Linked DNA regions of Homo sapiens: regions 2 and 3 are each linked to region 1. Evidence: promoter capture Hi-C in human tissues and cell types (Jung and others, 2019). All regions are on one chromosome and are shown on one strand. The core of a region is centred on a gene start or on the middle of the fragment in contact, and the rest is flanking DNA. Distances in the headings are between cores, read along the strand shown.

What was found. The method cuts DNA at HindIII sites, captures the fragments that hold promoters and counts their contacts. A contact is called where the count stands out against the background at its distance.
Region 2: the fragment with the promoter of ADAM11 here is called in contact with the fragment with the promoter of DCAKD in region 1 in 1 of the 25 tissues and cell types used here (heart right ventricle).
Region 3: a contact is called between a fragment that was not itself captured here and the fragment with the promoter of DCAKD in region 1, in 1 of the 25 tissues and cell types used here (dorsolateral prefrontal cortex).

Annotation. Positions count from the first base shown.
Region 1 is chr17:45,050,210-45,053,916 of GRCh38, forward strand. It overlaps DCAKD (dephospho-CoA kinase domain containing), which reads right to left and starts at 1,423. Exons shown (of 5, transcript NM_001288655.2): 1 at 1,152-1,423. RefSeq lists a silencer at 1,064-1,563. The HindIII fragment of the contact is 12,750 bases long and covers 1-3,707 here.
Region 2 is chr17:44,757,317-44,761,007 of GRCh38, forward strand. ADAM11 (ADAM metallopeptidase domain 11) reads left to right here and starts at 1,672. Exons shown (of 27, transcript NM_002390.6): 1 at 1,672-1,944; 2 at 2,406-2,581. The coding sequence starts at 1,884. RefSeq lists an enhancer at 1,313-1,864. The HindIII fragment of the contact is 11,776 bases long and covers 1-3,691 here.
Region 3 is chr17:44,566,829-44,570,572 of GRCh38, forward strand. No RefSeq gene overlaps it. Among named protein-coding and RNA genes, the nearest start is that of FZD2, 11 kb to the left of the region's middle. RefSeq lists a silencer at 340-540. The HindIII fragment of the contact is 4,266 bases long and covers 225-3,744 here.

The sequences.
Region 1 (3,707 bases), core at 173-2,672:
TTTTTGCATTTTTAGTTGACACGGGGGTTTCACCATGTTGACCAGGCTGGTCTCGAACTCCTAACCTCGGGTGATCCACCCTCCTCAACCTACCAAAGCGCTGGGATTACAGGCGTGAGCCACCGTGCCCGGCCCAGAGGGTAATTTTCAAAACAAAGCTAAGTTCGTGGCTTGCCTGCCTTCAGCTATCAGCCCTCTTCTTCTCTCCTTAAGGTACAGGCACCAAGAGGGGCTCGGAGACCATTTAAACGTTATTTACCAAGGGGACAGATTCAGACCTTGGTGAAGACAGACAGAGGAGGATTTGGTGGGAATTTAGGGCCCTGCTGAGACAAAAACCACCCGAACCCGTCTGTCCACTTTCTATCCATCTACCAGATCTCTAGCATTTCACCCCTTTCCCCAGGCCTATGCCAGCACTGTGCCACACCAACTCAATCTTGATTTATTCAGGTAAAATGAGCACTCTCCCTCCTGCAAAAACAAACACGTTTAAGACATAAAACATATTCAAAGGCTTCCATTTCCTCACCGTTAGAATTGAGACTTAATGTCAAAGTTCACTTGGGTAGGTTGAATCATTTTCCCACAACTAAGGGAGAGTGAAAAATCTTTGAAAACTCTGTAAGCAAACACCTGAAATGCCAACGCCTCCTTTGCGGAGCTGGGGAAGGAAGAGACGGGTGGCCGGATGGCCTCCCTCACTAGTTGGTGGGCGTGAGATCCACGCCGCCCCAGTCCCGGGGGCCTTCACTAAAACCTTAACTGGCCTCCCAGGGGAGAGGGAAGCGGAGGAGAGGGGTCTGAAAATCGGAGATGATCACTCAGCTCAACAGTAAAGCACTTTATACCCACCCTATGGGACAGATACTGTAGCTTTATTCCCATTTTTCAGATGAGCAAACTTGGGATCGGAAAGATACCCCAAGGTCACACAACTGAAGTGGCAGAAGCTAGATTCAAGAATCAATCGGCCCGCAAAGTTCTAAAGGGCAGTGGCTTTGGTCTGATCCTGAGTTTGAATCCACAATCTCCAGCCCTTTCTAGCTGTAAACCTTCCTGCGCGTCCTCAGCCGTAAAACAGAGGAAATAACACGTTGCTTGGTAGGGTTGCTGTCAAGACAATGGGCCGTGGATATAAAAGCACTTGCCTTAGTGCTGGCCGCATACGACGCGCTCAATACATCGTAACTCAGGCTTTCAAAAGAGGCCCGTACGCCCCACTAGGCCGCGAAATTGGGTCGCCCGGGGCGGTGGCAGCCCCGCGTAGCAGCCGCGGCCAGGGCCCGCCCCCTCCCCGGCGCCCGGCTGGCTCTCACCGGCCCGCGTGGCGCGCTACGTACCCAGCGCCTCCGCCGTGGCCCAGGCCTCCGCCTCTAGCCCAATCTCCGCAGCGCTTACAGGCCGGCTCAGCGGGCGAGGCGGGACCTCGGGAGCGCGCGCCTGCAGACCGGACGTCCGGCCAGCAGGCGGGGCCGGGAGAGGTTGGACGGGCGGGGCCGGGAGAGGTTGGGTGGGCGGGCGGGGCCGGGAGAGGTTGGGCGGGCGGGCGGGCGGGGCCGGGAGAGGTTGGGCGGGCGGGCGGGCGGGGCCGGGAGAGGTTGGGCGGGCGGGCGGGCGGGGCCGGGAGAGGTTGGGCGGGCGGGCGGGCGGGGCCGGGAGAGGTTGGGCGGGCGGGCGGACGCGGGAGAGGTTGGGCGGGCGGGCGGACGCGGGAGAGGTTGGGCGGGCGGGCGGACGCGGGAGAGGTTGGGCGGGCGGGCGGACGCGGGAGAGGTTGGGCGGGCGGGCGGACGCGGGAGAGGTTGGGCGGGCGGGCGGACGCGGGAGAGGTTGGGCGGGCGGGCGGACGCGGGAGAGGTTGGGCGGGAGAGGTTGGGCGGGAGGGCGGCCGGACGGACGCGGGAGAGGCCGGCGGGGAGAGCTCGGCCCCGGAGCACGGCACAGAGGTCCCCCGCAACCCCCGACCCGGAGCCATAAATTTTCCTTTCCCCGGAGCCGGGAAGGAGAGGGAGAGAGAGGAGAGGGGCAAAACTGCAGGGTCCTAACTTCGGATATAAAGCTCGGCCACTCGCTACTTGTGCAGCCTTGGCAGAGGTGATCATGAGCACTTTCCACCTGCCAGGTCCTAAGAGCACTTTGTGGGATTATCTCAGCCCGCACAGTCCGCAGGGTGGATACTATCATCATCCCCATTTTACACAACAGGAAACTATGTTTAGCGGTTAATCCATTTGCCCTCTCATACAAAGTCATGTGATTGCAGAGCCCGCATCCTGTCCATACAAGCCTAGCAAGCCACTCAGCCTCTCATCCTGTCTCCTCTCAAAGTGGGGATAATCGCAGCCGTGCAGCGTTGTTGAAAGAATACATAAAAGCCGGGCACGGTGGCTCACACCTGTAATCTCAGCACTTTGGGAGGATCACTTGAGCCCAGGAGTTCGAGACCAGCCTAAACAAGAGTGAGACTAACCCCCGATCTCTACAAAAAAAAAAAACAAAAAACAAACTAGCCAGGCATGGTGACAGTGTGGTCTCATTTACTCGGGAGGCTGAGGCAGGAGGATGGCTTGAGCCCAGGAGGTCAAGGCTGCAGAGAGCCATGATGGTACCACTGCACTCCAGCCTGGGCAACAAAACGAGACCTTGCCTCAAAAAAAATAAAGCATCTAGGCCGGGCGCTGTGGCTCACGCCTGTAATCCCAGCACTTTGGGAGGCCAAGGCGGGTGGATCACCTGAGGTCAGGAGTTTGAGACCAGCCTGGCCAACATGGCAAAATCCCGTCTCTACTAAAAATACAAAATTAGCCGGGCGTGGTGGTGAATGCCTGTAATCCCAGCTACACGGGAGGCTGAGGCAGGAGGATTGCTTGAACCCGGGAGGTGGAGGTTGCAGTGAGCCCAAGATCCGGTCACTGCACTCCAGCCTGGGAGACTACAGCAAGACTCTGTCTCCAGTTAAAAAAAAAAAAAAAAAAAAAAAAAAACTAGTTATCTAGTTATGCCTCACATATAGCAGGAAGTTGTTTTTGTTTTTTTTTTGTTTGGTTTGTTTGTTTGTTTGTTGAGACAGAGTTTCGCTCTATTGCCCAGGCTGGGGTGCAGTGGCAGGATCTTGGCTCACTGCAGCCTCTGCCTCCCAGGTTCAAGCGATTCTCCTGCCACAGCTTCCCGAGTAGCTGGGACTAGAGGTGTGCGCCACCACATCCAGCTAATTTGTTTTGCTTTTGAGATGGAGTTTTGCTCTTGTTGCCCAGGCTGGAGTGCAGTGGCATGATCTCGGCTCACTGCAACCTCTACCTCCCGGGTTCAAGCGATTCTCCTGCCTCAGCCTCCCAAGTAGCTAGGATTACAGGCATGTACCACCACACTCGGCTAATTTTGTATTTTTAGTAGAGATGGGGTTTCACCACGTTGGCCGGGCTGGTCTGGAAATCCTGACCTAGGTGATCCACCCACCTCGGCCTCCCAAAGTGCTAGGATTACAGGCGTCAGCCACCATGCCCAGCACATCTGGCTAATTTTTGTATTTCTAGTAGAGATGGGGTTTGGCATGTTAGCCAGGCTGGTCTCAAACTCCTGACCTCAGGTGATCCACCCACCTCGGCCTCCCAAAGTGCTGGGATTATAGGCATGAGCCACGGTGCCTCACCAGCAGGAAGTTTTTAATTAACACCTACCCTGTCTCCCTTCCCTTTCCTTAAACT
Region 2 (3,691 bases), core at 422-2,921, 290 kb before region 1:
TGGGCAGGCTGGAGCAGGACAGCCACCTTCGTGTCTGGGGTGTGTGGTGAGGGTGCATGGGACCAGATATACCAGTCCCCTCTGGTCCCAAATGGAGGGCAGAGATGGAAGTAGGACTAGGGGTGGCTAAGAGGAGTGGGGCCATGGAGTATGGGATGTGCCTTTCACCAGCTGTGTGACTTTGAGAAGCTCACATAACCTCTCAGAGCCTCAGTTTCCCCATCTGTAAAATGGGGAGCACAATCTCTCCCTCTGGGCTCATGATGAGTTTCCAGGAATACCACCTAGTAGGCCCTCATTCCCAGGAGCCTCCTCATGCCTACATCTTGGAGGAGGTTCTCAAGATGTCTCCAGAGCGAAGGAAGAATTGGCTCAGCCTTACTGAGCATCTGGGCCTGGCATGGCAGGTGGTTGGGGGTGGGGGGAGTCACTTGGTTCCCTACATTGATGTCAGCGCCTCCTGGGAAATCGCCTTCTCACCTCTCCTGGGCCTAAAATAGAGCGGGGGGTGGGGGTGTCACAAGCTAGAGGCAGTTCCCTCATCCCCAGCAGAGGCCCTGGGTCCTTGCGGAAGCAGAGGACCCAGGAAGGGGTTTCCTGCCTCCAATCTTGTTCTTCAGCAACCTGTGGTCCCCTAGCATGGGTACCAAAAAGGTCAGGGTGGGGACTCAGCGGCCCACCCACCATGCCCTACCACACCCCACACCATCTCAGGTATCTGGCCTTCAGCACCCCTAGCAGAAGTCTGAGGTCCCAGCCCTGGTATTGGGACCCAACATCCCCAGGAGCTGGGTGGAGGGCACAGCTGGGAATGTAGGTTGGGAGGTCAAGTATTTTGCAGACAGGGCAGCCTAGTCTGACCAGAGAGGGAATGCTGGGGGGCTCCAGAGGTGTCTTCTGCTCCTAAGGATTGGGACTAGCAAGGGAGGGGGAGCCATGGGGCATGCTAGCAGCATATAAGTGACCTGGCTAGTTTATATTTTATCTAGGAGGAAGGACAGGACGCCTGTGAGAGACTCAGGAACCCAGACGGACATGCCAGCCCTTCCTGATGGTTGGAGTGACAGCGATCCCTGAAGCCCTCCTGGAGGCCGGGGCATCTTTGGCGGGGAGAAGGAGCCGATGGGAAGGGGTCTGTACCGCGGGCGTGAGAGGACTCCGCAGTGACACGACCCGTAGCGAAGGTGCAAGAAATCCCAGAGGCGTAGAGCCCGGCGTTCGCCAAGAGCCTTTGCCCACCCCAACCCCAGCTTCCACAGCCTGGGGTCAAGCGGGGCGCTCCAAGCTGGGGCTGGGGCAGCCTCTCTGGGGTACCACGACAGAGGGGCGAACGTGGGCGCCGCAGCCACGCCCCTGCCCCCGGGCCCCAGACAGGCAGTCGCCGGGTCGACCCCGGGGGTACCCCGTCCCCTGCTTCCCTCCCCTACAAATCTACGAGTCCTCGGAGATGCTCAGGCAGAGGTGGCCGAGGAGAGGCCGCGGGATAAGTACGCGGAGCGCCACCGCCCCGCACCTGCCGAGGAGACTTCGAGGTGCGAGGAGGGACCCCGGGGCGGCGCCTCTTTTGTCCTGCCGCGGCGGCGGCCCGGGCCCTGCGGGGCTGGGGGGGCCGGGGGGCGGCGGGAGAGCGGAGGGCGGGCCCTGGGCTCACGTGCTCGCTGCTCAGCTCTTAACCCGGCCCCGCCGCCCCGCCGGGATGGCCGCGGCCGGAGCGCGCTGAGCCCCGGCGCCGTCCCTGCCGCCCCCACCTCTCCGCGACCCCCGCCCGGCCCCGCGCCCCCGCCCCGGCTCCGCAGCTGGCGCCTCCCCACCCCCGTCCCTGCTCCCGCCCTCCCCGCGCCGCTGGCAGCCGCAGCCCCCGGACCGGGAGGAATGAGCGAGCCATGAGGCTGCTGCGGCGCTGGGCGTTCGCGGCTCTGCTGCTGTCGCTGCTCCCCACGCCCGGTGAGTGACCCCCGCCCGGCCCCGGCGCCCCCTCCCTGCCCCCGCCCCGGGATGTGCGGCGCTTGCTGCTGCAGCCACCTTTTCCTGCAGTGCTCGGGGTGACAGCCGGTCCGGAGCGCGGGAGGGTAGGGGAGCGGGAGAGGAGGGAAGGTGCGTCCACCCACCTGTCCCCAGCTGGCCGGGCCCACCGCGTCCCTGCCCCTGCCGCCGACCGGCCAGCTCTGCAGGTCTCTGCGGGTTTGGGCGGATGGGGGGGCAGTCGTGACGGTTGGGCGGGAGTGAAGCTCCTGGCCCCCTCCCCGCGGGCTCTTGCCTCTGCAGGGCAGCCAGATCCTCCCACCCGGATCGCCCTAGGGCTCCAGGGGCCACACCAGAGTGGGGGATGAGGCATGCCCACCCCATTCCCAAGTCTTCTGCCCCAGGGTGGGCAGCTGCCTGCAGCCATGGCCTTGTTTCCCCAGGTCTTGGGACCCAAGGTCCTGCTGGAGCTCTGCGATGGGGGGGCTTACCCCAGCTGGGAGGCCCAGGAGCCCCTGAGGTCACGGAACCCAGCCGTCTGGTTAGGGAGAGCTCCGGGGGAGAGGTCCGAAAGCAGCAGCTGGACACAAGGGTCCGCCAGGAGCCACCAGGGGGCCCGGTGAGTGGGGCTGGGTGGTGAGGCCAGGGGCTGAAGCAGGCCTCAGAGCCCCAGGAAGCCCACGGGGTAACCAGGGTTGGAGTCCCCCTCAGCAGCTGCCCCGCAGGGTCCCCTTCTGTACAGTGGGCTATCCGGTGGGTGCTGGAGCCCACTGGTGGGGAGCACCAGGCCTGCCCAGCCCCAGGGCCCCCTTCCATTATTGTAGGGTCCCCTGCCCTCAGTGTACAGGGACCACTAATGCCTAGGTCTCAGGTCTGCTTTGGGTCAGCCTTCCAATGGCCCCCTGCTCTGCTCTGGCCAAAGCTAGTTGTTCTGTTCAAAACAGGGCTTGGATGGGGCAAGTTGGGGGCAGGGAGAGGCAGCCCAGATTCCAGTCAGGGATTAGGGCTCTCAGGTTCTCACCACAGCCACCTTAGTGGGCTTTCTTGGAACAACTTAGTGCTTGCTCCTGCCTCAGTTTCCACACAGTGCCCAGATAGGCTTGTTGTTCTTCCTGTCCTGGCTGAAGGTGGGGCCTTGGAAAATAACTTGAGGCCCCAAGCCAGCTCTACCTGCCTGCCCACTGTCCCTTTCAGCTGCCAGGCCCCTCCTGCCTCCCAGAGGAAGGTTAGGCATGAAGGAGATTAATTGCAATTAATAATTAATTAATATCATGTGAATAATAATCACCCAGATGGAATATTCATTCAGCACACCCCAGCGCTCCAAGAGCTGGAGCTGAAAGTGAGCCAGGCCAACAGGGCAGCAGAGGGCAGGTTGGCTGGCAAAGGCCCGGCACAAACAGGAGGTATAGGGGGGAGACCCAGAAGAGGGGTACAACTGAGGCCTGGGAAGTTTTGGCAGCGGGGAGTGGTGGGAGGTAAATTGGGCTGGGCAGAGGGAGGAAGGAGGGAAACGGAGGCTAACATTACGGACATCTGTCAGACTGGCATCTGGCCCTGCCTAATGTACTTGGTTAAAAGCCCTTAAGGGAGGGGAGCAGAGGGGGATGCGGGGTGGTGCAGGGGTGGAGAATACTGATGAAATGGATGGAGCAGGAAGGGAGCATGCATAATAGATGGACCATCACTCAGGGCCGTGCAGAGGGGCAGGGGGAGGGGGCTAATGGTC
Region 3 (3,744 bases), core at 1,108-3,607, 480 kb before region 1:
GAAAAAGAAAAATGAGGCCCAGAGGCCAGAGAGACACTGCCTGAAGCTCACAGGTAATTGCAGAATTGGAGCTCAAACCCAGCTTTTAGTCCTTATGCTTTTTTTTAGACTAATTTTTTTAGAGGAAGGTACAAGAGTTCCCATATACCCCTGTCCCTACACATACATAACCTACCTTCCCCATTATCAACATCCCTCACCAGAGGAGTACTTTTTTTTTTTTTTTTTTTTTTGAGATGGAGTCTCGCTCTGTCGCCCAGGCTAGAGTGCAGTGGCACATCTTAGCTCACTGCAACCTCTGCCTCCCTGGTTCAAACGATTCTCCTGCCTCAGCCTCCCAAGTAGCTGGGATTACAGGCATCCACTACCACGCCTAGCTAATTTTTGTATTTTTAGTAGAGATAGGGTTTTACCATATTGGCCAGGGTGGTCACGAACTCCTGACCTCAGATGATCCGTTTGTCTCAGCCTCCCAAAGTGCTGAGATTACAGGCATGAGCTACTACATCCGGCCACCAAAGGAGTACATTTGTTACAATTGATAAACCTACACTGACACATCATTATCAATCAAAGTCCACAGTTTACATTAAGGTTCACTGTTGGTTTACTTTCTTGTTTGTTTGTTTTTGAGACAGGGTCTCTGTCACCCAGGCTACAGTGCAGTGGTACGATCTCGACTCACTGCAGCCTTGACCTCCTGGGCTCAAGGGATCCTCCCACCTCAGCCCCCCAAGTGGCTAGGACTACAGGTGTGTGCCACCACAGCTGACTAATTTTTGTGTGTGTGTGTGTGGTTTTTTTGTTTTGTTTTGGTTTGGTTTTTTTAGTAGAGACAGGGTTTTGCCATATTGCCCAGGCTGGTTTTGAACTCCTGAGCTCGAGTGATCCGCCTGCCTTGGCCTCCCAGAGTGCTAGGATTACAGGTGTGAGCCACCGTGCCTGGACTTGTGTTGTACTTTCTATAATGTATAATGACATATATACAACATTAAAGTATCACACAGACTATTTTCGCTGACCTAAATATCCTCTATGCTCTACCTATTCAACCCTCCCAGCCCCACCAACCCCTAGCAACCACTGATCTTTTTACTGTCTCCACAGTTTTGCCTTTTCTAGAATATCATAGAGTTGGAATCATACTATATGTAGCCTTTTCAGATTGGCTTCTTTGACTTAGTAATATGCATTTCAGGTTCCTCCACGTGTTTTTGAGAGGTGACAGCCTGCTGGCAGCCCTCGCTCACTCTCGGCGCCTCCTCTGCCTGGGCTCCCACTTTGGCGGCACGTGAGGAGCCCTTCAGCCCACCACTGCACTGTGGGAGCCCCTTCCTGGGCTGCCCAAGGCTGGAGCTGGCTCCCTCAGCTTGCGGGGAGGTGTGGAGGGAGAGGCGCGGGCAGGAACTGGGGCTGCACGGGGCGCTTGGGGGCCAGCGCGAGTTCTGGGTGGGCGTGGGCTCGGCGGGCCCCGCACTCGTAGCGGCCAGCCAGCCCGCAAGCCCCGGGCAGTGAGGGGCTTAGCACCTGGGCCAGTAGCTGCTGTGCTGGATTTCTCGCCAGGCCTTAGCTGCCTCCCTGCTGGGCAGGGCTCGGGACCTGCAGCCCACTATGCCTGAGCCTCCACCCCTTCCTCTCCCCCACGCCGTGGGCTCCTGCACGGCCCGAGCCTCCCGGAGAGCGCTGCCCCCTGCTCTAGGGCGCCCAGTCCCATCGATCACCCAAGGGCTGAGGAGTGTGGGTTCACAGCGCGGGACCCGCAGGCAGCTCCACCTGTGGCCCCGATGCGGGATCCACTGGGTGAAGCCAGCTGGGCTCCTGAGTCTAGTGGGGACTTGGGGAGCTTTTATGTCTAGCTGGGGGATTGTGGATACACCAATCAGCACTCTGTATCTAGCTCAAGGTTTGTAAACACACCAATCAGCACGCTGTGTCTAGCTCAGGGTTTGTGAATGCAGCAATGGACACTCTGTGTCTAGCTAATCTAGTGGGGACGTGGAGAACTTTTGTGTCTAGCTCAGGGATTGTAAACGCACCAATCAGCACCCTGTCAAAATGGACCAATCAGCTCTCTGTAAAACAGACCAATCGGCGCTCTGTAAAATGGACCAATCAGCAGGATGTGGGTGGGGCCAGATAGGAGAATAAAAGCAGACTGCCCCGACTCAGCAGTGCAAGCAGACTGCCCCGACTCAGCAGTGGCAATGTACTCGGGTCCTATTTCTCCGGGGGGGGGGGGGGGGGGGGGGTTGGGGGGTGGAGAGAGGAAGCTTTATTCTTTCACTTTTTGGAATAAATTTTGTTGCTGTTTGTTCTTTGGATCTACACTACTTTTATGAGTTGTAACACTCACCGGGAAGGTCTGCAGCTTTGCTCCTGAAGCCAGCGAGACCACGAACCCACCGGGAGGAACGAACAACTCCAGATGCGTCGACTTAAGAGCTGTAACACTCACTGCGAAAGTCTGCAGCTTTACTCCTGAGCTAGTGAGACCACGAACCCACCAGGAGGAAGAAACTCTGAACACATCCGAACGTCAGAAAGAATAAACTCTGGACACGCCGCCTTTAAGAACTGTAACACTTACCGCGAGGGTCTGCGGCTTCATTCTTGAAGTCAGTGAGACCAAGAACCCACCAATTCTGGACACATTTTCGTGGTTTGATAGCACGTTTCCTTTTAGCACTGAATAATGTCTGGCTATTCCACAGTTTTTCAAAGCAGATTAATTATGCCCTGGCTACCAACTTGCTTGAGTTGGGTGGAACAGAAAAACCCCCCCAATCAAATAAGCTACACGCACCAGATGTATTACTTACAGATAGGCAGCAAGGGACAGCGTAGCCTAGGACTCAGCCAGTCCCCCGAGGCTCACAAAAGCTGCCTGGGGTGAATGGAGTCTTGTCAGTGTGTATGTCTTGCTTACCTCACTAGCAAACTGCCCTGGGTTTTGTATCCTAGGGACAACAGGACTTGGTGGGCTAAAATGTTGAAGGACGTCCTATTTCTTTCTTGTTTTCTTTTTTTTTAAAGGATATTCTATTTCTAGGAGGGCCTGGAATAGAGCTCAGGCTGTGCTGTCCAGTCCCTCGTTATCCCAGGATGCTGCATTCCCAGAACAATCTACGGTTATTCTTGAATACTATAAGTGAGAAAGCGGAGAACTGGGTGGCCCAAGGCCACCCGGAGAACTGTCTGGTAAGTTTATTCACCTATCGAAGGGCATCTTCGTTGCTTCTAAGCTTTGGTAATTATAAAGCTGCTGTAAACATCCATGTACAGGTTTTTATGTAGACATAATTTTTTTTTTTTTTGAGACAAAGTCTCGCTCTCTTTCCCCAGGCTGGAGTGCAGTGGCATGATCTAGGTTCACTGCAACTTCCGCCTCTCGGGTTCAAGCGATTGTCCTGCCTCAGCCTCCTGGGTAGCTGGGATTACAGGTGCCTGCCACCACACCCAGCTAATTTTTGTATTTTTAGTAGAGACGGCATTTTACCATGTTGGACAGGCTGGTCTTGAACTCCTGACCTCAGGTGATCCGCCCATCTCGCCTCCCAAAGTGCTGGGATTACAGGCGTGAGCCACCGTGCCCGGCCACCTAGACGTAAATTTTTAACACGTGGGTAAATACCAAGGTGCTTGATTGCTGGATTGTATGGTAAAAGTATGTTTAGTGGTGTAAGAAACTGCCAAACTATCTTCCAAAGTGGTTGTACCGTGTTACATTCCCACCAGCAGTGAATG